7 separate regions of the Homo sapiens genome follow, and all the other regions are linked to region 3. The links are contacts of gene promoters, found by promoter capture Hi-C in blood cells and fetal thymus (Javierre and others, 2016). All regions are on one chromosome and are shown on one strand. The core of a region is centred on a gene start or on the middle of the fragment in contact, and the rest is flanking DNA. Distances in the headings are between cores, read along the strand shown. Region 1 overlaps ARL15 (ARF like GTPase 15). Region 2 overlaps ARL15 (ARF like GTPase 15). Region 3 holds the start of FST (follistatin). Region 4 overlaps ARL15 (ARF like GTPase 15). Region 5 overlaps ARL15 (ARF like GTPase 15). Region 6 overlaps ARL15 (ARF like GTPase 15). Region 7 overlaps ARL15 (ARF like GTPase 15).

Region 1 (3,595 bases), core at 217-2,716, 610 kb before region 3:
TAATGGTAATGAATTATTATTAAGGTATTATAGCATATCTTAAAATGCTTTATTTTATTAGGGCATTTAAGAGAAAATGGTAATAGTTACTTAAAATACATATATGAATTATATACCCCAGTGCCTTTTTTGTTGCTGTTATTTTACCTTTGTGTAGTCTCTATATCATTACTGGTTTTTTTTTTTTGTGCTATGTTATATCTTAGTTGGGAATTTCCATGTTTTATTCCTAATCAAAAATCTTTAATATTGTTGTTTTAAAACAGAATTCATGTACTTCTGACAGGATTTAATTAGCAAAATTATTCTTTTTTTCCTCTGTATTTTAAGAAATTGAAGTACTATTAGGTATTGGGAAAATATGGCAATTTTTAAGGCAATCCAAATAAAAGCCATATGAGACTCTACGTGGTCTGGTCTAGGAAGTCACAAATTTGGTGAGTATCAAAATGAACTGGTATGACATTTGCTAAGCAGGTGGTAAATGTCAAAAATTTGTCTACTAGCCCAGGATGGCCTATATGCCTCAAGTCTTGAGAACCACTGTGTCTCTAGGGTAATCATCTGAAATGCCTTTCATCTGTTTCCCGAGTTGTTTCTCAGACTAAACCCTGTATAGAAACCTTCACTCTGAGACCACACTGAAAACACATCTGCACTTAAGAATGTGGATTTTAAACACTGTGTGTGTTGCATGCACATAAATTATATTTAAGAGAATCTGTTTTTATAGCAGATCCTTGATATTCATCAGGATGCATTCTAAACTTCCCACCAATAGCAAAATCACTTGAATATTGTATGATAATGGTATTTAAGTAAGAAAAGAGTAAAAGTCATTTTTGCACATTTTTCAGAAATCACTTTCATATTTAAAAAGTTTAATAACCCAGATCAGTCTTTTTTCTTTTTTTTTTTTTTAACTTTAAATGTTTATATTATACTTAAATTATTAAATTACCTCCAGCATTCAATCTTTGCAAGAAATCCAAGTCAGTCATTTAATGGGTAGACTATGTGCAGGAAGCATAGTGTTACTGGAGACTTTCACACATACCTTCTGTCTTTGCATTATGAGAATCAGAACATCCACTAAAAGCCTAGCTCTTTATTAGGGAAAGGTAGCAATCAAATAGAGCATTGCTGAATGTGTGCCAAAGTGAGTGCAGGGAGAATGAGCAGGCTCTGTCACATCCTTACCCTGGGGCCAAATGCTGCCCAAGTTTTCTCGGTTCATGTCAGGCCAGGTTTGGGGTGCTTTCTTTGGTCTTTCAGTGACCCCAGCAGGATCCAGAGAACACCCTGGCCTAGGCATTTGGCTCAATGCCAGGACACCTTTCATGTTTGAGTTGAGCTATGGAGAATTCACCTTAGAACAGAGCAAACTCCCTAGGCAAGACTTCTGTGAGCACTCTACATTCAACAATAGACACCATTCTCAGTGATTACCAAGAATTCAATTACACATCCTTCTCAACAGTGAAGCACTGCATCTTTAACATCAAAGCATGGCTTTGTGTTTGTTCATCACTCATCCTTTATGAATACTTCCTTTATATGTCTGCATGTAAATGTGCCTATAATATATATGTGTATGGGATGTAACTATGGACCAATAAGGCTCTTTAAAAGACACCCCAGAAATGTATGAATGCCACCTTCTTCTAAGCACAGAGACTTTTAAAATTTATGATATATTGTTTTACAGGAAAAAATAAGGTAAGTTAAAATGATATAATTTGGGTCTTCTTTTCCTATTTAAAATACATCTAAGTTTGAAAATTAGTATCAGTGTAGGATTTGGCAGAATAAAGATCCGCCTAAAGATCCTCTGGATTGGAGTTATCTCTGAGATCTGGTCAGAGATATCTTAGAAACCCAGCCCAGTAAGGGAGAGAGCAGCCTCTCGAGGCTTGGTGCCCTGGTGATTTCAGGACTAGAGGATAGGAGAAGACAAGGAGCAAATGGATCTAAACGCTTTAAGGAATAATGCAAAGATTAAAAGGTTAATAGCCCCTATATCCAGGATCACCTTGAGTGGTTCTCTGGTTATTTCAGTGGTCTCCTTTGTTCCACTGAAATGGTCTTCTGGGTTCTACCATATGAGCCATACAAGAAAATCTCTATTTTTTATTTTTTGTTTGCTTTTTTAAAATTAAAAAATTGTACATTCCATGCTTGGTCATTCATTTCATTAGGAATTTGTCTAAGAACTATAGGTATGTGCTTGTTTCACCCATCCATTTATTCTTATATTCAATATGGATTGATGGAGCATCTAATTCCATAAGCCTGGTAAATAAAATGTACTCTTTAGAATAAAACATCTTTCATCACCTGAGGGTATTGACAAGAATATGCCAAGGATTCTAAAGCCAGATGCCAGAAGAATTCCAAAAAGATTGTGGACATCACTTGGAATAAATACATAGCACAGAGCTTCACCAGGAGACTATATTTGTACGTGTATTTTCAACCTAAACATTCCGGAACGAACGTGTATAGATTCCATATCCTGGTGATGGTGGTGGTGGTGGTGGTGTGTGTGTGTGTGTGTGTGTGTGTTTTCAATTTGAGCAGTCTATTAACCACATGTAAGTAGCTAGAGGCAGGAGAGGGAGAGGAATGTGCGGAAATGCATTTGACTTGGGATGTCTCATTTTCCAGAATCCCTGCCAAGGGCTGGCAAGCCCAGAAAGGCAGAGGCTGGCACCATTCCCTGCCACTCTCCGCCCTCTATGGTATACCCCATCAGACGCCTGTTGTAGGCGTGACCTAGATTCCCTAGCTGATGCCTGGGACCAGCAGGGCCCATTGCATTTTTTTTTTTTCTGTGTTTCCTCATCTCTTCATCTCAAGTCTTGCTCAGCCATTAAGTTAAAGAAATGCTCCAAAGGTCTGTGCCAAAATGTGTCTGCCCTTGTTCTTAGTGGCACAAGCCCGACTGTCAGTTGACAGGTGGGCACACCACCTGGGGAACAGTTAGCTTCCCATACCAGATGGAGTTTTACTGGTCCAGGAGAAGGCCCACAACTGGGTTGCTGGAACAGATGCTCTGCAGACAGTCTCTGGATCTGTTTTCTTCCTCCTCCCCATGCCCCACCTTTGCTTACTGCATATGAGCAGTGCCCTGTAGGACTGCTACAGACTACAGCTCTGTAGCATTATAGGAGACTTCTAAGCTAAAATTTCTTTACCGACCTTATGTTTGAGTAACATTCTCCAGCCCTTCAAAACCTGAGAAATAAAGTCTCTGAAAACAGAGATATGTATAACTATGGAATTTGAATAGTGACCTTAAAAAACATAGGTTATGAAAACATTTATATTAGCATTTGCCAAAAGGTTGTTTGGCTGGTCTTGGGAGTGTTGACACTTTAATTGCGTTTCTCGCCTCTCAATAGCACAATTTAGATTAAATCTAATTATGGTAGATGGTAGTACATAAAAGTAGTACCTTTTAGATTTCCAAAGTGTGGAAGAAAAAGATTTTCCCCATGGTCTGATATATATTCTTGTTTTATTGCAAATAATTGAAGAAAAGTGAAAGTAGATTCCTCTGGTTTTCAACCTAGTACTTAAAAATTTTAGAGGA
Region 2 (3,622 bases), core at 570-3,069, 690 kb before region 3:
GAATGGGATCTCTCCTCCTTGAACCCCAAACAAGACCAACGCAGCCCAGTAAAAGAAACTGTGTGACTAGTTTTGTTGTCTGTCCTAATTGAATGTGGAAGACCACTTCTAAGTCTGAACAGCTGCTAGCCATGGCCATCTTTGAGGGAACAGACACATACACAAATAAACCTATCTCTGAGAAAAACTCTCATTCTGAGTCTGGGAGACAGACTTTATAAAAAAGCTTGTTAAAGTCAGACAGTATCAGCCAGCCTTCATATGAATCCATGAAGTGATGTGTTGGCGTTTAGAATGCTGTTAGTAGTTATGGTCATTAATCTTGTGGGAGAGGGTGTGCTGGAACTAAAGGAAGATCAGAGAAGAACATCTCATAGGATGAAGACAGACTGAAATAAGTAGGACTCCTCAGGCTTGAAAAGACTGAGAGGAAATACAATTAGCATGAATAAACCCATGAAGAATATGGGTCATAGAATTGTTTACCAGAAGCAGGCAGAACCTCTTGAGAACAGAGGAAAAGTGAATTTAGGACAAAAAGAAGCTCTAATTTACCAAGAAAGTTGATCCTGTACACCAAAACCACTCTTTTGGGAACTAGGCTAACTAATGGCATTGAAGCGAAGTGAAAAAGTCAGCGGTTTCTTATTTTGACAGTATTTTCTTGAAGCGTGGAGGGCTCAGAGAACATAGATCAAGCATCCTGTTAGTCTCTATGTTTTCTTTTTTCTTTGCTTAGGTAAAATTTAAGTGTCGTTCATTCTTCATTCAACAATTATCTGCTGAGGGTAGATTCTATGCCATGTTCTCTGCTAGACACTGGGAGTACTGAGATGAAGGGGGACAGACATGGTTCTCACAGGCTGGTGATGAATAAGAAACTGCAATTGTCTGTGTAATGAATTTATAAAAGCCCAGTAGAGCTGGACGTGAATTGCTAACACAATCTTAGGATTGGAGCAGACTGCCCTGAGGATGGGATGATTAAGTTGAGACCTAAAAATGATGAGGTGTTGGCTAAGTCCAGAATTGGGGGAAGAAGGAACAGCATATTAGATGCCTCAGTTGAGGTAAGAGAGGGCATGGCTGGAGGATGTAGGGGAGTGAGGGCAATGAGGCTGGTGAGCTTGGCTGGAGCAGATCATGGAGTGTGGGGTAGACCATGGTAAGGGTTTGGGCTCGAGAGCTGGGCAAAGTCACTGGGGTGGCTTAAGCACGTATGGTCAGATTTTCTCTTTATAAGCAATCCAGTCACTGCAATGTGGAGAATAGGGGGCACAAGAGCAAATATACTGGAACTAGTGGGAGGATATTGATGTTGTTCAGGTGATGATGGCCTGGGCTGGACAGAAGTGGACAGATCCTAGAGCTACTTCAGAGGTCATATGAACTAGATTTGTTGATTAGATGTGAGAAATGAGGGAGAGAAATAATCAAGTTTGATTTACGAGAGTATGACAGCCAATTAGTACTCAGATTTTATCTGAGTGAGATGAATCAACACAGGCTTTTTTATAGGTCTCTTCTCTCGTAATCTCCAGATGACCCAAAAGTGAGTGGATCTGCCTTCTTTCCTCCCTGTCTCCCCCTTTCCCTCTTTCTCTCATGAATCATTCAGGGTCTAAATGTTTCAGGCTCTATAAGCTGGCACATAGTTGGCCCCTATGGATATGGGATAAGTAGAAAGATCAAAAGCTGCACAAATGATACCCTGTCTCCCAAATCCTCTTGTTTTTCTTTCTTTCTTTCTTTTCTTTTCTTTTTTTTTTTTTTCTGAGATGGAGTCTCGCTCTTTTTGCCCAGGCTGGAGTGCAATAGTGTGACCTTGGCTCACTGCAACCTCTGCCACCCAGATTCAAGTGATTCTCCTGCCTCAGTCCCCTGAGTAGCTGGAATTACAGGTGCCTGCCACCATGCCTGGCTAATTTCTTTTTGTATTTTTAGTACAGACTGGGTTTCACCACATTGGCCAGACTGGTCCCAAAGTGCTGGGATTACAGGCCTGAGCCACTGTGCCTGGCCCAGATCCCCTTGTCTTTAACTCTTGCAGAGCAAACTATACTACAGTTCATAGTACCCTGGTTGATTGACCTGAAAAAGAATTTAGCAAAGGCCAGAAAGGCAGTGGTATGTATAGAGACTCTATTTAATGATTTTAAAAATTTTTGTATTTTGAAATAATATCAGTGGTAAGACCAGAACAAGGAGTTTTCCTCTATTCTCTTTACTCAGCATCACTAGTCATTAACATTTTGCCATGTTGGCTTTGTCACTCTCCTCACCAGATAAAGATGGAGCTGGAGATTTAGATTTTTCTGAGCCAGTTAATTGTGGACATCAAGACCCTTCACCTCTAAATACTTAGAGGTATTATAAATAATTAGAATATTTTCTCAGAACAATGATTTTTCTTACATAACCACAGTACATTGATTAAATTCAGGAAATTTAACCTTATACAGTACTCTTATCTAATATGCAGTCTATATTCAGTGTTCACTTATTGTCTCAATAATGTCATTTATGGCTTTTTTTTTCCCCTTTTGATCTAGGATCCAGTCCAAGATATATTGCATTTTATTATTATGTCTTTTTAGTCTTCTTTAACATGGAACAGTTCCTCAGTCTTTCTTTGACTTTTAAGACATTGATATTTTGGAGGAGAACAGGCCAGTTGCCTTATGGAATACTCCTTAGATTGGCTTTATCTGGTTTCCTCATGCTTAGATTCAGATTGTGTGGTTTTGGCAGGCAAGCTGTGGGATGATGTCATGCTTTTTGCAGTGCACCTGCCATAGCAGGAAGGGAGGCATGAAGTAGAAAAACATTTCATAACTAAGAATGTTAACTTTGATCACTTGGCTAGAGTGGTGTCTCCAGGTTTCACTGTTCTAAAGTTACCGTTTTCTTCCTTATAGGTAATACTTTATTCAATTACCTCTTAATACTTACTCAGTCATTTTAAATGTGACTATGGTTTATTTCCATACTGTCATTTAAAGGAACATTTTTTTCCCCTTCTTTTGGCAGTGTTTTAGAGCACTTTGCTGCAAGGGACCACCACCTGCACGACCAGAATATGACCTGGTTTGCATAGGCCTCACAGGTTCTGGCAAAACCAGTCTGTTGTCCAAACTCTGCAGTGAAAGCCCCGATAACGTCGTGTCGACCACAGGTGGGTACTGTGCTGGGGTTCTGTCCCTTCTTCTTTCTCATCCCAAGATGTCCTAGTTTCCTGTGCAATTTATCCCCTCCCTTCTACTTATAGTTTAATGCTTTAATCAGTTTATTTTAATTTTAAACACTATCTCTTTTTCAAAAAAGATTTGAAATGAATTTAATAGCATTAAATTGCTGTATCCTATATCCCTCTAGCAGGTCATTTCAGTGGCACTGAATAAATGAAGCTTGGGAAAATATTAATACAAATGAATCCTGAAATCTGGAACTCTGATATATGACAAAATGGATTCATCTTGGGCCCATAGAGTACTTTCCTTCCTTGAAGTGTCACTCCAGCCTATGTTTCTTGGCCACACACTCCCTGAATAGTAAACTGATGTAGTCTGAATCTTCTTTCCTTGTCATTTTTCACCTGGAGGAAAGTCAGTGCAAGAGATCA
Region 3 (3,630 bases), core at 493-2,992:
GAGAGAGGAGAGATGGAGGGGAGAGAGAGGGAGAAGGAAAGAGAAAGAAAGAAAGAAAAGAAAGAAGAGAAAGAAAGAAAAGAAAGAGAAAGAAAGAAAAAAAGGAAGAAAGAAAGAGAGAGAGGAAGAAAGAAAAGAAAGAGAGAGAGAGAGAAACAGATCAAGCAAAAGGCACTTCTGAAAAATGAAAGCAAAAAAGCAACCCGGCCCAGCCCGGAGCTACCCCGCGCGGCCTCCAGGCGCAGCCAGCCCGACGGGCCCGTTTTGCAATCCGCCAGACCGGAGCACGCCCGCGGCCACCGCGATCTTTCGAAATCTCCGAGGGCTGCTTTCCTCCGCGCCCACGTCCGGGCACCAGGCAGAGCCTCTCCTCTAAAGGCGGGCAACCCAGCGCAGTGCCATGCAGACGGCGAGGGGCAGTGCCCAGGAGGGCAGTTTACAACATACTTAAAATGTTAACGCTGAAGCAGGGAAAGTAATGCCTTAAGGTGGGGGGAGGGGGGAGTCTTCCTACCATTTCACGGTTATAAGTACCTATCTCATACCTAGCAAGAAATATTTGCAAGTGATTTCTCCCTCTTCCCCCTTTTTAATGTTCGGATTTGGGTCGAGAAGACTTCTCATGAATCACCAATATGACTTTAACAATCATTGGATCGCAAGCTGCTATTATTATTTTAAACATTCTGCCCAAAGACTAATTGAAATAAACAAATCTATTTTTAAAAGGCAAGCTTCAGAAATTTGCTCTTAACCCATTTCAGAATTTAAGTCAGTTATGGGCTGCTCACTGTTTTACAGAAAGCTAAGGGTCAGAAAGAAGAATGAGGCAGAGGGGAAAAAAACTGTAAAGTGCTCAAAGCACTTTGGGGTAATAATTTGGCTTTTTTTTTTTTTTTTTTTTTTTTGCGAGAATGGGGGATGGGGTTGGAAGAAGCATCCACTAGGCAGAAAGCTACTTCCCTTGAAAATCTTCAGCACCCACATTTCCAAGTTTGGGCAAAGTTTCTGAAACCACGTCCCCCAGCCACCAAATAAAATTCAGTATCTCTCCCCCAAACCCCCAGGTTTTCTTTTCTTTCTTTCCTTTTTTTTTTTTAAGTATCCAAAAGATGTGGGAGGGAGAGAGATGAGACTGCAAATGGGTCGACTGAAATCTCCAGGCTACTACTGATACTTGTTCCCTTCTTCAGAGCCAAACAGAGGAGATCACATCTAAAGTTATCATGGCCAGAACTTGGAGCATTTAACCCTAACTACTAAGACCCCAGCTCGCTCCCTTTCCTTTTTCAAGATAACCGAGCTCCAAACTCAGTTCCCAGTCCTAAAGTGTCATTGCCTACAATTTTCCCACTCCTCTCCATCCCGGAGTCCCCAAGTTGGTTCAACATCTTCCGAGAGCAGCGTTGCTCAGAACAGACCAAGTGGAGACCACAGAAAAGTCGACCCCCCTGTCCTCAGCCAAGCCTCCCCAGCGCATCCCCACTCGCTTACCCTGGGCACTGCGGTCCTCCATGAACTGGCAGAGCAGCAGCAGCAGGAGGCAAAGCCCACCCGGCTGGTGCCTCGCGCGGACCATCCTGGGGGCAGGCGCGGGGCGAGGAGCGCAGCGGCGCGGGGAGCCGGCGCGGCGGCGGGTGGCTCGGGCGAGCGGCGCGCGTCGCAGAGGCCAGCGGCGGAGGGCGCAGCGATCCCGGCGCAGCCCCGCGCTCGCCGCCGGCCGCCCGCGCGATTCAATGGACGTCAGAAGCCGGGCGCAGCCGCGCTTTAAATCTAGACGGGGGTCTCCGCGGTTTGCGGTGGGCGGTCTCCCAGTGTGTGGGGCTGTGGGAGGGCGGCCGCGAGCGAGGGTGTGCGCGGCTCCTTGGGGGTGGGGAGCTTTCAAAAGTTCAGTGTGAATCAGGTGACATTTCCCACCTTCTGGAAACCCTTCCCAATTATCTTTCGGAGGTGCCCGAAATCAAAACGGCTGGAAGGGAATCGTCGAGTTCTTATTTGCGTAGGAGCGAGAGGGAGGGGGAAGGCGACCGGGGCGGGGGTTGGGGGCTACGCGTCGGGGGTGGGGAGTGGGGAAGAACACCCACTTCAAGTCCTGCTCGCCGCCGCTCGCCGGCAGCGCCGGCGCGCCCGGGGTGGCGGGTGTGTGTGTGAGTGTGTGTGTGAGTGTGTGTGCGCGCGCGCGCGAGTGTGAGAGGGAGGGCGCGGTGGGGGCGCTGGAGGCGGTGGCGGGGGGAACCCGGGAGTTTGTCTCCGTGCTGCCTCTCCTCCGCTCCAAAGAGACTTTTGCAAACGGCCGAAGAGCCCCGGGCTGCCCAAATATCCCGCCCCGGGTCGGGTCGGAGCGCGCCGGCCTCGCGGCGGTTCCGGGCACCCGCAGCCTGGGCGCGGGACCCGCGAGGTTTTGTGTCTGGGTCTGTGAGTGCCTGACTTTGCAGCCACCCCCAGCCCAGAGGTGTTGCTAGGAACCCCGGCCCCGGCACCTTCCACCCTGGCAGAGCGCTACCGAGACGCGGCCCTTCGTCTGGACTAGTCGGAAGCAAACAAAAATGTTTAACACCTCAGGCCCGGTCTCCCCGCGGCACAGCCTCGCCCTCTCCCTTTCTTTTCTCCCCTTTCACTTCGCGGCGTCTGGAGTCGGAGCCCGGAGCGGGGGCGCCGACGTAGGCGGTCTGGCCCCCCCTTCCTCTCCCGCCTGGAGACTCCCCAGTTTCTGTCCTGTGTGCCTCTGTCTGTCTCTCAGTCTCCTCGGCTCCAATCTCTCTCTCTTTCTGTCTCGTCTTCTCTCTTTTCGCGGAATAAAAAAGATTGCAACATCCATAATGAACTTCTGTAGCCTCAGTTTATTAAGTACAGTGCCTGGCATTCTTCGCTGAAAGTTGGCGGGTCTCTCATTTATAACATTTTTGGCACCGCTGAATGAAACTGAGGAGGCGATATTTCCTTTTATATAAAACGATTACTTCACGGAAAATGCTATATTGTTTATTCCAAAGCTGCCTTTTAAATTTGTTCTTTTCGCATCTGAAGCCCGAAGGACAACAGATAGCGAAGTATGCAGACAAAATTCTTGGACATTCGCAGGTCACTGGGATTTGTTCTACGAATTTCAAATCTGCCCTTCTTCCCCCCCTGCAACTGCCCTCCCCCCGCCAGACCCTCCCCCAGTCCTCCTCTAGCCCTCCCACCCCCCATCTTCCGTCAACCTTCCCCCCTCCACAACTGCAAATAACTCAGTGATAACAGATTTTTTTCCACCAACTGCAGGAGATAGTGCTAATCTTTTAATAAAAGATCCCATTACAATGGGATCTGTCTGGACAGACTATAATAGATCCCGAAATACAGCCGTGCTAATATTAGAAGACAGTTGTTTGGGTGCCTCTCAGACGGGCCCAAGCCCCCCTTTGAAAGTGGGCATGAATCACAAAGCCCCGCGGCCGCCGCACCTGCACCGCGCGCATTCGGTGCAGCAGGCTGGTAAAAGCGGGTGACCTCGCCGCCGCTTTTCGCTTTATAATTACCGTCATGAGGACGGGAGGGGAGGGGCTCGGGCGGCCCGGGGGAGACTGGATTTTGCTCACTTCAGACGGCTGTGGGGGCTCCACATCCTTCTTAATCTTTCCAGAATCA
Region 4 (3,217 bases), core at 434-2,933, 640 kb before region 3:
CAAAACCAGTTTGTATTAGTGATCAGTTTTGGTTTTCATAAGGGTGTCACCTGAATGTTAACACGACTAATCATGCTGTTTGTGTTCATGTCTAGTTGAAGACACCTGTACTGAAAGAACATGCGTTTTTGTCTGAAGGGGAGAAATTTCTTATTTGGTGTTAGTCAAGGGAAGAAATCTAGACAGCAATGAGGGAGGAAGAAACTGGAGATTATAAAATACTGAGTCTGAAGGTGATACAGGACATAGGAGAAAGTTAGTTGAACAGAAAAAGAAAGGGTCTGTCCCAAGTAAAAACTTTGGTTTATTTTTTTATAACATTGGTTTTCTCAGGAATTACAGAAAATCTATTCTTTGCCTCTTTTGTTCAGCATCTGGTAGCCTTTTACTTCCAGGTACTGAGCTAACTTGAGTTAGTTCTTCGTTCAGTAGTTCTGTGAGTTATAGGCTTAAATGGTGGACAAATGATAATAGTAACATCCACAACAAAATGACAGTTAACACTTGTGAACAGTTAGCATATTCTACGTACTGTGTGAAAAAAGTTATTTAATCCTCACAATCCTATGAGGTAATTAAGTATTATTATTTTCCTCTCTTTTATTGAGAGGGAAACTGAGGCTTGGAACAATTAAGCGGAGTTTTCATGTTACTTAGATGATATGTGGCAGAGCCAGGCTTTGAACTCAGTAAGAGTCCATGCTGTTCATCACTCTACCATCATTCTGTCCTTCAGGGCTGAATCTCACTCCTGAGATTCACTGCTTTGTTTTCAAGGAAAATTGTGTACTGAATTCTCAAAAAAATTAGAAGCTTTGGAAAGTTTTAGAACATACTTGATCCCTAAACTTAGAGCTGCCCAAATTTATTTATGAGTTATAAAGTGCATTGACTTATCTAATTACATAATTCGATATGCACATTATAAAATTAAACATTGATGTCACCTCCCTGAAATCTAGACTTTTTCTTTGCCATTCACTATTTTATGCTTGAGCCTGAACATGATGCTGGGTGGCCTTCTGTCATCAATAGGGGGACAACAACTAGATCAAAGGGAATGGGCCAGGTGGAGAAATGGAACTCTCATTTTAAGAGCTCTGATAAGCATTTCCAAAAAGAATGTCATAGAGACAGTTAAAAGATGAAAGAGCAAATGTGAGTGCAGTCATATATTGCAGAGCAAGCATAATTCTCTTACAATTTTGTTATGTGAGTAAATATGGTAATAACTTGTTTTGAGGTCTGATTAGTCACAGACGAAAAAACACTCAAAGTGAGGGACAAATTTACTATTCCACTTTTGAACATCAAGGCTTATAGTATGTGACTCTAATTATACTTTATGCTATATAGGATGAGACATTAGATGGTTTTTAACTTTTTCCGTGAGTTTGTCTTAATCTAGAACCTCTTGCATCTTTATCAGTTTTGTCACAGGATTGGTACGTTAAAGTTTCTGATAAAAAAGAAAAAATACTGGTTGGGGAAATTGGCAAGTTGTGCTAGAAAGCAGTAGCATTTCCGCATTATTAAAAGATCTTATTTCATCCTGGGTATGCAACAAATATCTTTCTGTCAGCCAGGAAGTCTCCATTTTGGCTCTTCCCAATTTATTGCTTTGGTCAACGTCAATTGCAGCAAAGCTGTTCCCACTAGCTTTTCTAGTCTTGCCACCAGATTTTCTAGAATACCACAAAAGTGTTTTGTTTTTTGTGTCATGCCAATGGCTCAAGAATTAGCTGCTTAAAAAACATTTGGAACTATGCAAGTTGTGATCCCCTTGGCATCTGTGGTTCTTCTAAGGAGTCAGCTGTTGGCTTTTGCAGGAGTACGGAAGGGAACATTTCTCCAGAACTGTTCCCACAGCTTTTTCTTTCTATGCTTTCAGTTTCTCTTGGGTACTGATTCTGTTGGACATCAGAACAGTATAAAGGTTCATAAATAGGATAGAATCAAAAAGTATCCCAAGGAACATAGGTTAATGTACTTTGTGGTTTTAGTACAGTGCTTAGCACGTGCTGTATTATGGCTGCATGTTTTCAAATACTACGACAGGACTCTGAGAAAGGCCTATGAGTAGAGTGAAGTTTCATTGTAAATATGTTTAAGGAATTCTTAATATCAGATGCTGAATGAGAGATTCCTTGCAGAACTGGGTATGTACCAGAAACATAAAAATTAGTTGCTAATAACTTTACTCAAGCCACCACCATCAACCAAAAAGATAGATTATTTGTATAGCAAAGAATGATTTGCTTGGTAAATTCTACATTCTACTTTTGAGAAATCAGAATAAGTATTCTATAAAAGATTAATTCTTTAAAAACTATTGAGTTTCCATTATGGGTTAGATGTGGTCAGAGTATGGTGATGAATCAGACACGAAAATGCACAAAACTCCCATATGGTTCTTCCAGTGTAATCAGGAAGATGAACTATGCATTTAGATTACTATGCTACAGGGTAGAAAGTGTTACATGGAGAACCAAGAGAAACAGACCAGAAGATTTTTAGAAATTATTCCCAGCTGCAAGATCAGGTAAAGCTTGGTGGAGTAGGCAACATTTGATCTGGCCCCTGAAGCGCATGTAGTGGTTTGAATTTACAAGAACTAAGGGGACAACTCACACGGTAGTAACTCCAGGCAAAGGAGATAACAAAACCAAATGCATAAGGGTGGAAACCTTAGGTCTGGTCCAGGAGAGCAAAACGTTTTGCTCATTTGTGGAGTATCTAAGGAGATCAACAGAGGAACATGGTAGGAATGGCAAAGTGGAGCCAGATTATGGAGAACTATAAATGCTAAATCAAGTCATTTGAGAACTTCAAGTTATAGGCACTTAATGTTTTTGAGCAGAGTAGTGATATAATTTGAGCTAGTTTTCTGGACAAGTATTAGTATATTTGTGATAGTTTGTGCTAGTTTTCTAGGTAAGTATCTTGGTTCATTTGAGACTGGGTAATTTATAAGCAATAGGAGTTTTTTTTGGCTCGGTACGGCTAGGAAATCCAAGTTCAAGGGGTCTCATCTGGCAAGGGTCTTCTTGCTGCATCAAAACGTGCAGAAGGTATCACATGGTGAGAGAACATGCAAGAGAGAGGAGAAAATGGAGAAAACTCCTCAAATGAACCCATTTCCAAAAGAACAGCATTAATCCATTTTTGAAAGTGAAGTCCTTGTGACTTAATCACCTCTTAAAGGTTCTACCTCTTA
Region 5 (3,346 bases), core at 644-3,143, 710 kb before region 3:
AGTATTACAGAAATATTTAAGAGGTGAAATCAATACAAGTAAGAGACTTGTATCAATTTTGGACATTGTGAGAGACACAGGATTGAGGATAAGCTTTGGATGATGGATTGGATGATGCTGCAATTTACTGAAATAGGAAATATAGAAAGAAGGAACAAGTTTCTTTTGTGGGTGGTAGGATTGATACTGAAATTGGATTTTTATTAGTTTGAGAGTACTTAAGGGAGATCTAGATAGAGATGTTTAACAGGAAGTTTAAAAACTCTAGTTTGGCTCTCCAGAGCAGGACGTTGAAGCAGATATGGGATTCAGAAGCCATCAAAATAGTAGAAGCCATGGGAATGGAAGGAATGTCCTACGTGAAACATGTCAAATGAAAAGTGTCACTGGACCTACATACATACTCTTGATTTCTGTCTTCACCACCCCAGTAAGATGGTGCTTGTGAAGATCACCAATATCCTCCATATTTCCAGATACAATGGTTATCTGTGTGTTCTGATCTAACTACTCAGAAGCATTCATCTTAGTTGCTTACCTCCTCCCTCTTGAAACACTTAAGTTTTCTTACTTTCATGACACTTACGTTTTCTGTTTTTTCTCTCAACAGACTGACTGGTTTCTCCTCTTGTGTCTTCTTGTAAAGATTAGAAAACTTTAAAACTCTGTCTAGACCCGCCCCCCACCCCAACTCTTTGTCATTAGCATGACCTTAGTGTTATAATTCTAGAGGAAGACAAAACACAGGAGGAGTCACATAAAAGTATAAGATTTGCCAAATTTAATAGGATGTGATTTAAAAGGATGCATGTTCCTTCCATTCAAGAAAAATGCGGCTAGAATATAGAATTCCATCAACCTCTGTCCAATGATAAAAGGTTAGGAAATAATTCAATAAAACAATTGTAAAAAATCTTGCCGTCATGGGACTTATGTTCTAGTGAGGGGAGACTGGCAATAAACAAATAAATAGTAAATTACTGAGTAAGTAAGAAGACAGTAAGTTCTGTGGGAAAACATGTAAGGTAGTTAGAACATGTTGTGGTGGGAAAGGTTGCAATTTTTTTGGCTTTTTTTTTTTTACTTATACTTTAAGTTTTAGGGTACATGTGCAGTTTTTAAGAGTAATCAGGGCAGGTCTTACTGAAAGGTGATATGTGAGCAAAGACCCAAACAACATAAAGGAGTGACTATGAACCATATGTATATCTAGGGCAAGAGATTTCTAAGCAGAGGGAATGGCAAGTGCAAAGGTCCTGAAGTTGGATGTTACCAAGCGTGGGCCAGGAACTGCAAGAAGGCCAGGTTGCTTGGAGTAACTGACTGAGTGAAGAAATAGTAGTAGATGTTGTCATAGAAATAATTAGGAGTGGGGGAGGAAGGAGGAAGGAGGCAGATTTTATAGGACCTTTTAGTCTGCTATAAGGGCTTTAATTTTTAGCCTGAGTGAGATGGGAGCCTTTGGAGTATTTTGAGTGGAAAAGAGACTTGATCTGACATATGTTAACAGGATCACTCTGGCTACTGTGCTGTAAATAGACTATACGGAGGTTTGAGTGAAAGCAGGGAGCCAGTGTGAGGCTTTTGGAATAATCAAAGCAAGAGATTGGGGTGGTAAGGGTAGAGGTGGTGAGAAGTAGTTGGAGTCTGTATATATATTGAAGCTATTGCTGACAGAATTTTCTGATTGATTGGATGTGTGGTTTGAGAGAAAAAGGGGTGCCAAGGATTATTCTAGAGTTTTTGGCCTGAGCAACTGAAAAAATGGAGCTGTTGTTAACTAAGGAGGAAAGTTTCAGGAGGAATAGGTTTGGGATGAGTTATAAATTGTGGGATTTTTTTTCAAAATTTTTTTTTATTTTTGTAAAATACATATAAAATTCACCATCTTAACTATTTTTAAGTATGCAGCTCAGTGGTATTAAATGCATTTATAATGTTATATCCCCACCATCACCAGCATACATCTTCATAACTCTTATTCATCTTGTAACACTGAAATTCTATACCCATTGAACAATAACTGCCTGTATCCCCCTCCTTATTTCCTGGTAACTACCATTCTACATTTGGTCTTTATGACTTTGACTAATTCTATCTTATATAAGTAGAGTCAAACTGTGTTTGTCTTTTTTACGGCTGGCTGGCTTATTTAACTTAGTCTTATGTCCTCAGGGTTGAAACATGCTGTAACATATGTCACAACTTCCTTCCTTTTTATAGCTAAATAGTAATCGATTATATGTATATATCACATTTTGCTTATCCATTCATTTGTTGATGGACATATGGGGTACTTCTATGCTTTAGCTGTTATGAGTGATGTTGCTATGAACATGAGTGTACAAACAACTCTTCCAGATCCTGCTTTCAGTTCTTTTGAGTATATATCCAGACATGGCATTATTGGATCAGATGATAATTCTATTTTTAATTTTTTGAGGTACTGCCATATTGTTTTTCACAGTGGCTATATCATTTTACATTCTTCCCAACAGTGTACAAGGGTTCTAATTTCTCCATATCCTTGCCAACACTTGTTATTTTCCATTATTCTGATAGTAGCTGTTATGGTTTGAATGTGCATGTCCTCCCCAAAATTCATATGATGGAACCTAAGACCCAATGTGATGGTATTAAAAGGTGAGGCCTTCAGGAGGTTATTAAGTCTGGGGGCTATGGCCTTATGAATGGGATTAATACCTTTATCCAATGCTTCCAGGAAACTAGCTAGGCCCTTTTCATCCTTCTGTCTTCTGCCATGTGAAGATGTAGCAGAAGGCCCTCACCAGACACAAAATGCCAGTGCTTTGATCCTGGACTTTCCAGCCTCCAGAACTGTGAGAAAATGAACTTCTGTTCTTTGTAAATTACGTATTTTGTTGGAGCAACAGGAACAGTCTAAGACAGTGGCCATCCTAATGATATCTCACTGTAATTTTTTTTTTTTTTTTGAGACAACGTCTCATTCTATCACCTAGGCTGGAGTGCAGTGGGGTGATCTTGGCTCACTGCAACCTCCACCTCCTGGGTTCAAGCAATTCTTCTGCCTCAGCCTCCTGAGTAGCTGAGATTACAGGTGTATACCACCACACCTGGCTAATTTTTTTGTATCTTTAGTAGAAACGGGGTTTCACCGTGTTGGCCAGGCTGGTCTCGAACTCCTGACCTCAAGTGATCCACCTGCCTTGACTCCCAAAGTGCTGGAATTACAGGCGTGAGCCACCACACCTAGCCCTCACTGTAGTTTTGATTTGTATTTTCCTGATGATTAGTGATATTGAGCATCTTTTCATGTACTTAATTAGCCTTTTGTATATCTTCTTTGGAGGAATGTCTTTTCAAA
Region 6 (3,388 bases), core at 333-2,832, 730 kb before region 3:
CATTTGTGATTTGGGCATTACTATTTTTAGGAGGAAATTTTAACTGGATACATTATGCTATGTTTGCTTGATCAGACAACATATTTAAAGGAGATACAGGATGTTAGTGTGTCAAGGGACCTTAGAGACATCTAATTTAACAACTTTATTTTTCCAGTTGGAGAAACAGAGGCATGGGTAGGTTAAGTGTTTTGGCTAAGGTCATAAAACTGGGCTGGCAGGACTGCTATTCAGATTTCTCACTCTGCATCTCCCCCCCATTAAATCACTACTTTTAGGTAGCTAACAGTAGATTCACTCTTATTTGTTCCCCACCCCTACCACCAAACATGCTTAATCTTTCTCAATCTCCATTTGACTAATTAGTTCACAGCTAAGAAAGCATATTTTCTTTGAGCAGATTATGCCAATAGAGAAAACAGAAAAAATAGTCCAACAGGACAAACACTGTTCATTGTACACCCAATAGCCATTTATCCTTCTTGCTAAAATACCCTGGTCTGAGGCAGCAATGTGTCTAGCCCCAGGCAATGAATGAACCATGATTGGTCTAAGCCACTTAGACTCCTGTGTTCCCTGTTTTCTCAGCTTCTCTTACAACTAGATGTGGCTGTGTTGCTCGGTTCTGACTAGTGATCTTATGGGGGAGGGGGTCTGCTTGAGGTTCTGTGGGGAAAGTTTTTGCTTTCCTGTGAAAAGGGACAGATGTGGCCTTTTCCCTTTTCTACCTTCCTTTTCCCTTTTCCTCTTCTTAAACAGAAATGTGACATCTGGAGCTGATGTGCCCTTCTTACTACCTTACAAAAAAGGCCAGCTTCTTTTTAATTAAGTCTCATTTGTTTAAACCAGGGATTGACATTTTGGTTAAACCATTGGTTGGCAAATTATGACCCATTGGCTGATTGCCTATTTTTGTAAGTAAAGTGTTACTGAAACACAGCCACGTATTGACTGTGGCTGCCTTCATGCTATGACAGAGTTGAGTAATTGTGACGGAGACTATATGGCCTGCAGGTCTTAAATATTTACTCTCTGGCCCTTTAGGTTTGGTGATGCCGTTTAAAGCACCTAACATGAATTTTCTGTTACTTGTAGCCAGACACATTCCTAATGGAATCAACCAATAACCAAGATCCTTAAACAAATTAGTGACTTGGCATTTCTTCCTACTCAAATTACTCTTTTCTGGTTAAGTAGGTGTGCTCCAGATAAGCATATTCCTCATTTTGGACTTTATCTACTCCTCTTTATTTCCTTCCTGAACTCTCTGATTATCATATTCTTTTTAAAAGTAAGATAAGAGTATAAAAGTATTTCATTTGGCCGGTCACGGTGGCTCGTGCCTGTAATCCCAGCACTTTGGGAGACTGAGGCGGTCGGATCACCTGAGGTCAGGAGTTCAAGACCAGCCTGCCCAACATGGCAAAACCCTGTCTCTACTAAAAATACAAAAAATTAGCCAGGTATGGTGGCGGGCACCTGTATTCCCAGCTACTCGCGAGGCTGAGGCAGGAGAATCGCTTGAACCTGGGAGGCAGAGGTTGCCGTGAGCTGAGATTGCACCACTGCACTCCAGCCTGGGTGACAAAAGTGAAACTCTGTCTCAAAAAAAAAAAAAAAAAAAAGTGTTTCATTTAAGCGCTGCCTAAAACTAATGTCAGCTCTTTGATATTCCAATCTTTTAACTGCCCAAGGAATTATTTTCTAATGCTCAGATAAAATTGTCAGGGCTTTCACTCGGTGAGTAGGGTCTATTCATGGATCTTAAAACCTGAACCGATAGAACAGCTCTACAGCTCCTTGTATTCTGCTCCCAACCTTCCTGTCCCCTCCAAACTTGTTGCCCTTTGTGGTCTGGTGGAAGCAGGAGAAAACCCTGCAATAGCCCCCACTCTGTGACATTTTGGAATACTTTGTGCATACCAAACAAACCACTAACTTGATTTGGGAAGATAAACTGAAAATACATTTCTAGTTCAGTAATAGCTATAATTGGACAGTCTGTCTTTTGAACAATAAAAATAATCCTAGTTTCGTTTTGTGTAAAGATATAACATCTTATGTGTGACTGCAAAAATAAGCAAAAACTACTTATTAAAATATGTGTATTTTCATTTTGTTTGCTGACAGTGTCAGGTAGTAATTGTGCTGGTTTTGCAGACTCTGTAATGTGTTATTGCAGAAAAAGCACTAGATTGGGTTCTATGAGACTGAATTAACCATGAGTTGTTTGTCAACTGAATTAACTTCTCTGTGCCACAGTTTTGCATCTCAAGGAAAAGAGATTGAACTATGTGGCATATAAGGTCTCTTTCAATTCTAATATATTTGTATTTGTAAATATTCTTCAGGGTGGCTAGAACCTACTTGAGGATTAGTCAATTCAAATAATAGCAACAGCAGCAACAACTGCAACAAAACTTCCTTTGGAAAATCAACATACTTTAGTCAGAATGGCCCTTTAATTTTTAAGGCCCAGATGCCTCAAAGGATTTGTCATGTACAGTTATCATTTGTTGTCAGAGGACTATTCTGGGGGATAGAATGTTATGGGTGAATTTGGGTTCTGTGATGGCCATTTGCAATGCTTTAGCTTGATAATCAAATATAATATATTTCACAATACATTTATCATTTTGTTGAAATAACGTAATGAGTGAAGCCATTGTCTTGAAGTACAAGTTTCCAAGAGAATATTCGGAGCAAATTGGCTGGAAAGTGAGTGGATTATAGTAAAATAAAATAGATAATAGGCATTATTTTTAATAAAATGTTCTTGCCTTGCTTAAGAAATATAGTTCATGAAAAAGAAAATTATAATTTGATTGGGAGGATTTTATGGTAATGATGCCTGTGTCACAGAATCTTACAATATATTTTGAAGTGGGTACGTTTAAAAATGTCTTGCTTTTTAGAAGAATACTTAATAACAAAGAAAAAGCATATTTTTGTTAATTTTACTTGTTATGCCTCTTTGCCTTTTCAGCTTTCATGGAAGACATTAAGGAAAAAAAAGTTGGCATTGTATTCAAGCCAAATATTAGGACACAAAGAAGAAATTAATGTTATTTCTACCATTTATTCACCTTTTCTTCCTTTTTCAAAGAACTCCTTAGCTCTTCTGTTTTATTAGCATTCTATAATCCTCTAAGTCACTGTGTATCTTTATATTTTGAAGAGAAAGTTGCCATGTAAGAAAAAGATAGCTTTCTTACTTCTTTGAGGGAGAAGATAGGCTATGAATAAATAAAAGATAAAAAATAAGAAAGGCTGTCAGTTTCAAACACTCTGGAAGAATGTTGACTTTGCAAGTAACTGTTCAAAAATTAGTCTCTTTATACAGCATGTCTGGCCAATGTCTAGGTAAAAGAAATGACCTGAGGTGAAT
Region 7 (3,580 bases), core at 501-3,000, 670 kb before region 3:
TTACACTATTATTGGCAATTTATACAGCTCATTGGTTTTACTTGTTCAAAAAATTCTTGAATAAAACATATGAAGAGAATTTTAATATCATTGAAAGATCAACTATTCGGGGAAAAGATTTGTATTTTAGAGTAGTTTGTGTTTATACTGCAGGTTTTATTGTATTAGATCTTTTTAGAATGTATTTGTTCCGATAATAAATCTTTGCCAATGGGTTCTTTGCTGGCCAAGCACATTTATCGGATAGGCTGTACCCCAAACCATACATCACTCAGTCTTTCATTACACTCTCTGTCTGGCATTTTTTGGTTGTGTTTTATGTTAGTCAGGGTCTTAACCCATGTAAATAGATTAACAAAGAAATCAGTCAATTCAGTGAACCCACTAAATTCTCTAATGGCGCATGAAAATACTAAGTGCTCTGGAGTTCAGTATGATATCGGTGAGTTTAATGACTTAGGAGAGAGTTATCTTCCATCTCTTTAATCACTTTGTGATATTGGCCTTACCTTGTTTTGTTTTGTTTTGTTTATTTTCCCTTAAGGTCATTCTAACTGTGACCTATTTTTAGCTCGATGAGATTGTAACACCAACTTTACGCCATTTTAATAGCGTTTGGTACCTTCTTATTTTTATCTAATAAAAAACTGGCTGATCTTTTCAGGTGTCTGTTTTCAGTTCGCTATGTGTAGGACAGGTTCGCTTCTGCCAGTCAATTTCATATTCACTTTTAGCTTTATAGCATTAATATATAAAACAACCATGATCAATAAATTCCGATTTTTCTTTAAGACATTTGGTTTTGTCATTTTGACTCCAAAAATTATAAAACATGAATGTTCTTATAATAATTTTTCTATGCAAAGTTTTTAAAAGACTGTGTTCTATTAGGGTATTTTAAATTATAATTGTACTTTTAAGAAAAATAAATGTATGGCATATTAACCATGCCATATGCTTAAAACCTTAAATACAATGGTTGCTCAGAAACTATTGATAAATTAACGTCTAGAAATTAGTTTAATTTAATTTAATTCAAAAAAGAAATACAAGCAGCTGGCAGAACATTCAAATGAAACAAAATAATCTTTCTCCTATTTAAAATTTCCAGATGCATGGTTTATAAAAAAATGCTTTTTTGCTTTGTGGCTTCTGCTGATTATTCCTTGGTGACAATAATATTACTTATGGATATTTAAAAATCAAAGAACACATTGTAAATGCATGGTTTGAGAGTTATATGGGTTTTAAATATGGCTGTTACTAAGTATTTTATTTTTAGGTTGGACACAAAGCTTTTATTGAACACCTTCCAGGTATAAGAAACTATTGGTTGGTTAATAAGACATTTATTACATATGATGTTTACTTGGATGAAACAAACAGTAACTGTATGTGGACAGTTTTAAAAAAAGTGAACACCAAGGAATTCGTAAGGTTGGCTCTGTGCCATCAAAATTCAGTACAATGAAAGATCAAGTTAGGGGACTAGAGGTACATAAGGTGGGAATAGGTCTGTTCTCAAGCACGGTTTAATTTTGCCGAAAGAGCTGTTCCCTGACAGTTGCTGAAATGGAAATTACAATGGAGAGGATACCATAGGATTTGGTGGTTATGTTTTAGTTGGTACCTATTTCGTAATGAGGTTAAGAGATGCAGGTAAAAGGCAGAGCCTCAGGGATCAGAGCAGATACATTCGTTCCAGGCTAGTGATACATAAGTTTTTGGCATGTGTTAGTATTGAAGAGCAAATTTCTAGCCTATGCATAGATTCTTTTACTTTCTCAACTTTAATAGCTCTGTTTCCAGTTGACACAGTGTCTGAAGGAAGAGGGGACTTTCTGAGTAGAATCCAATTGTGTATCCTGTGTCACATGCTCGGGGGCAAGCACTTAAGGGAGTTGACTTCTTGACAGCTCATTCACTAAGTCATTTCCTCAAATATTTTTTGAGGCTAGGTACTAGGTTATGTCTCAACCAGGAACACATGAAAAGCTAGGCTAACCTGTATAAAGTGTAGCTTTCCTAGGAGTTAACGTGTATGCTAGATATGAAGGGGATCATCCCAAAATAAGGTGTATGTGCACTTAGGGGGAATTATGACTGGCTGAAATCAAGTTGTCTGAGAGGGAGTTGCTTGACTGAGAATTTCTGGGAGGAGAGAGTTATATGTTTTATGATCAATGTGTGAAGATATGAAGCTTTTATTCACCAGTGGAGGGTTGCTCAGAAGACAGGTTAATCAGAGTTCAATCACATTGTCAATCAGAGAAAAATTCTGAATTCAGGGGAGGACCTCAAGAAAATAGGTGGTAAATATAGAGATTAAGAGCCAGGACAGTGATGAATTCTTAGTGAGGAATGCCCAGGTAGTTCTCCTTATCCTGGGGTTAATTCAGGAGAACAGCATGGCCCCTGTTCTCCCTGCTAATGTCCTTCCTCTACCCATTTCAGATAGTTCCAAGGCTCTTCTTCACTCTTTCCCAGTCTTAAGTTAAAATTCTCACTTCTTCAAAATAGGGAAGCGCATAAACCTGTGCTCATTATCTATTTAGAAGAAATGATATGGGGTGAGGAAACAATGAATAATGGAGTTACACTCAGTGAAAGTCACTTTTGGGGATCTTAATGACAAACTATATGTTTGCACACACAAACATATGTTTGTGTGTGAATATATATGTGTTGAATATATATTACTTATAAAAATTATTATTTCCTCTTACCAATTTTCTGTTTTGTGAAAGTGTTTTTATATCTTTTTCCTGAAAAATTCTTAAAATTCTCATTCACATCAATTTCTTTTCATGTGGTGTTTTCTTACTGTTCACTTGATCATTTTACCACAATTAATTATGGGTCTAGCATGGTCCTATGGGCAGAGAATGAAAGATCTAAGCACAGCCCTCATCTTCAGGGAACTCCTCATTCAGTGATGGAGACATTCATGAAAAGAGAAATAGGAAATTAGTGAAAATTTTGAAAATAATGAAATGAAAGGGAAAAAAATTAAGTGCAGAAGTACAAGGTAAATTATGACACAGTGATAGTCTAGCCCAGTGGTTTGGTGGGCCATTTCTATTTTGCTATTTTAAGAATGCCTTGTTCTCAACTACCTGTCACACCCTCCAGGCTGCAGTGATTATGCCTATCTTTTTGTGAAATTGGAGCTCTAAATTTTCTTCTTCTGTTTTGCCCTTATTCCCTTTTCTCTCCCCTACACAGTCTCAGTCTTTGCAACTTCATGCCTAGAGAGTAGATGCTATTATTATCTCACAGATAAGATAACACCAGACATGATGATTTGACTGTGGTCATTTGGAGCCGGAGGTTGGTATCAGTCTGAGCTCTTGTGCCTAACCAGTGCACTCTACACCTACAGCACTTTACCCAGGGCCTGGCACAAGAGAAGTGCTCCCACCTGTTATTTGCTGCTGTTTGTATCATTATTATTTGCATGATTTGAAGTCTTCACATGTTGGTTTGGTTTTTTTTTTTTTTTGGTTAACAGTGTGTTGGTAAAACACCATTTTTTATTTTTTATTTATTTATTTTTGAGACAGAGTCTTGCTCCGTTGCC

Evidence for each region. Contacts are between HindIII fragments. The CHiCAGO score rates a contact against its expected background, and 5 or more counts as called.
Region 1: a fragment that was not itself captured here is called in contact with the fragment with the promoter of FST in region 3 in 2 of 17 cell types (megakaryocytes and M1 macrophages); the score reaches 6.7 in megakaryocytes.
Region 2: a contact is called between a fragment that was not itself captured here and the fragment with the promoter of FST in region 3, in 11 of 17 cell types (M2 macrophages, megakaryocytes, M0 macrophages and 8 more). The highest score is 12.4, in M2 macrophages.
Region 4: a contact is called between a fragment that was not itself captured here and the fragment with the promoter of FST in region 3, in 1 of 17 cell types (M1 macrophages). The highest score is 5.2, in M1 macrophages.
Region 5: a fragment that was not itself captured here is called in contact with the fragment with the promoter of FST in region 3 in 9 of 17 cell types (megakaryocytes, M2 macrophages, endothelial precursors and 6 more); the score reaches 10.7 in megakaryocytes.
Region 6: a fragment that was not itself captured here is called in contact with the fragment with the promoter of FST in region 3 in 16 of 17 cell types (M1 macrophages, megakaryocytes, total B cells and 13 more); the score reaches 23.1 in M1 macrophages.
Region 7: a contact is called between a fragment that was not itself captured here and the fragment with the promoter of FST in region 3, in 2 of 17 cell types (megakaryocytes and M0 macrophages). The highest score is 7.4, in megakaryocytes.

The regions. Positions count from the first base shown.
Region 1 is chr5:54,091,018-54,094,612 of GRCh38, reverse strand. The region is part of intron 4 of ARL15 (ARF like GTPase 15); the gene reads left to right. Among named protein-coding and RNA genes, the nearest start is that of MIR581, 140 kb to the right of the region's middle. The HindIII fragment of the contact is 4,752 bases long and covers 1-3,595 here.
Region 2 is chr5:54,171,337-54,174,958 of GRCh38, reverse strand. ARL15 (ARF like GTPase 15) reads left to right here. Exons shown (of 5, transcript NM_019087.3): 2 at 3,031-3,175. Among named protein-coding and RNA genes, the nearest start is that of ARL15, 140 kb to the left of the region's middle. The HindIII fragment of the contact is 3,181 bases long and covers 229-3,409 here.
Region 3 is chr5:53,478,741-53,482,370 of GRCh38, reverse strand. FST (follistatin) reads right to left here and starts at 1,742. Exons shown (of 6, transcript NM_013409.3): 1 at 1,495-1,742. The coding sequence starts at 1,579. RefSeq lists an enhancer at 440-509. The HindIII fragment of the contact is 5,217 bases long and covers 737-3,630 here.
Region 4 is chr5:54,119,195-54,122,411 of GRCh38, reverse strand. All of the region lies in intron 3 of ARL15 (ARF like GTPase 15), which reads left to right. Among named protein-coding and RNA genes, the nearest start is that of MIR581, 170 kb to the right of the region's middle. The HindIII fragment of the contact is 1,735 bases long and covers 816-2,550 here.
Region 5 is chr5:54,190,001-54,193,346 of GRCh38, reverse strand. All of the region lies in intron 1 of ARL15 (ARF like GTPase 15), which reads left to right. Among named protein-coding and RNA genes, the nearest start is that of ARL15, 120 kb to the left of the region's middle. The HindIII fragment of the contact is 3,595 bases long and covers 96-3,346 here.
Region 6 is chr5:54,209,705-54,213,092 of GRCh38, reverse strand. All of the region lies in intron 1 of ARL15 (ARF like GTPase 15), which reads left to right. Among named protein-coding and RNA genes, the nearest start is that of ARL15, 99 kb to the left of the region's middle. The HindIII fragment of the contact is 5,856 bases long and covers 1-3,388 here.
Region 7 is chr5:54,150,774-54,154,353 of GRCh38, reverse strand. The region is part of intron 3 of ARL15 (ARF like GTPase 15); the gene reads left to right. Among named protein-coding and RNA genes, the nearest start is that of ARL15, 160 kb to the left of the region's middle. The HindIII fragment of the contact is 906 bases long and covers 1,298-2,203 here.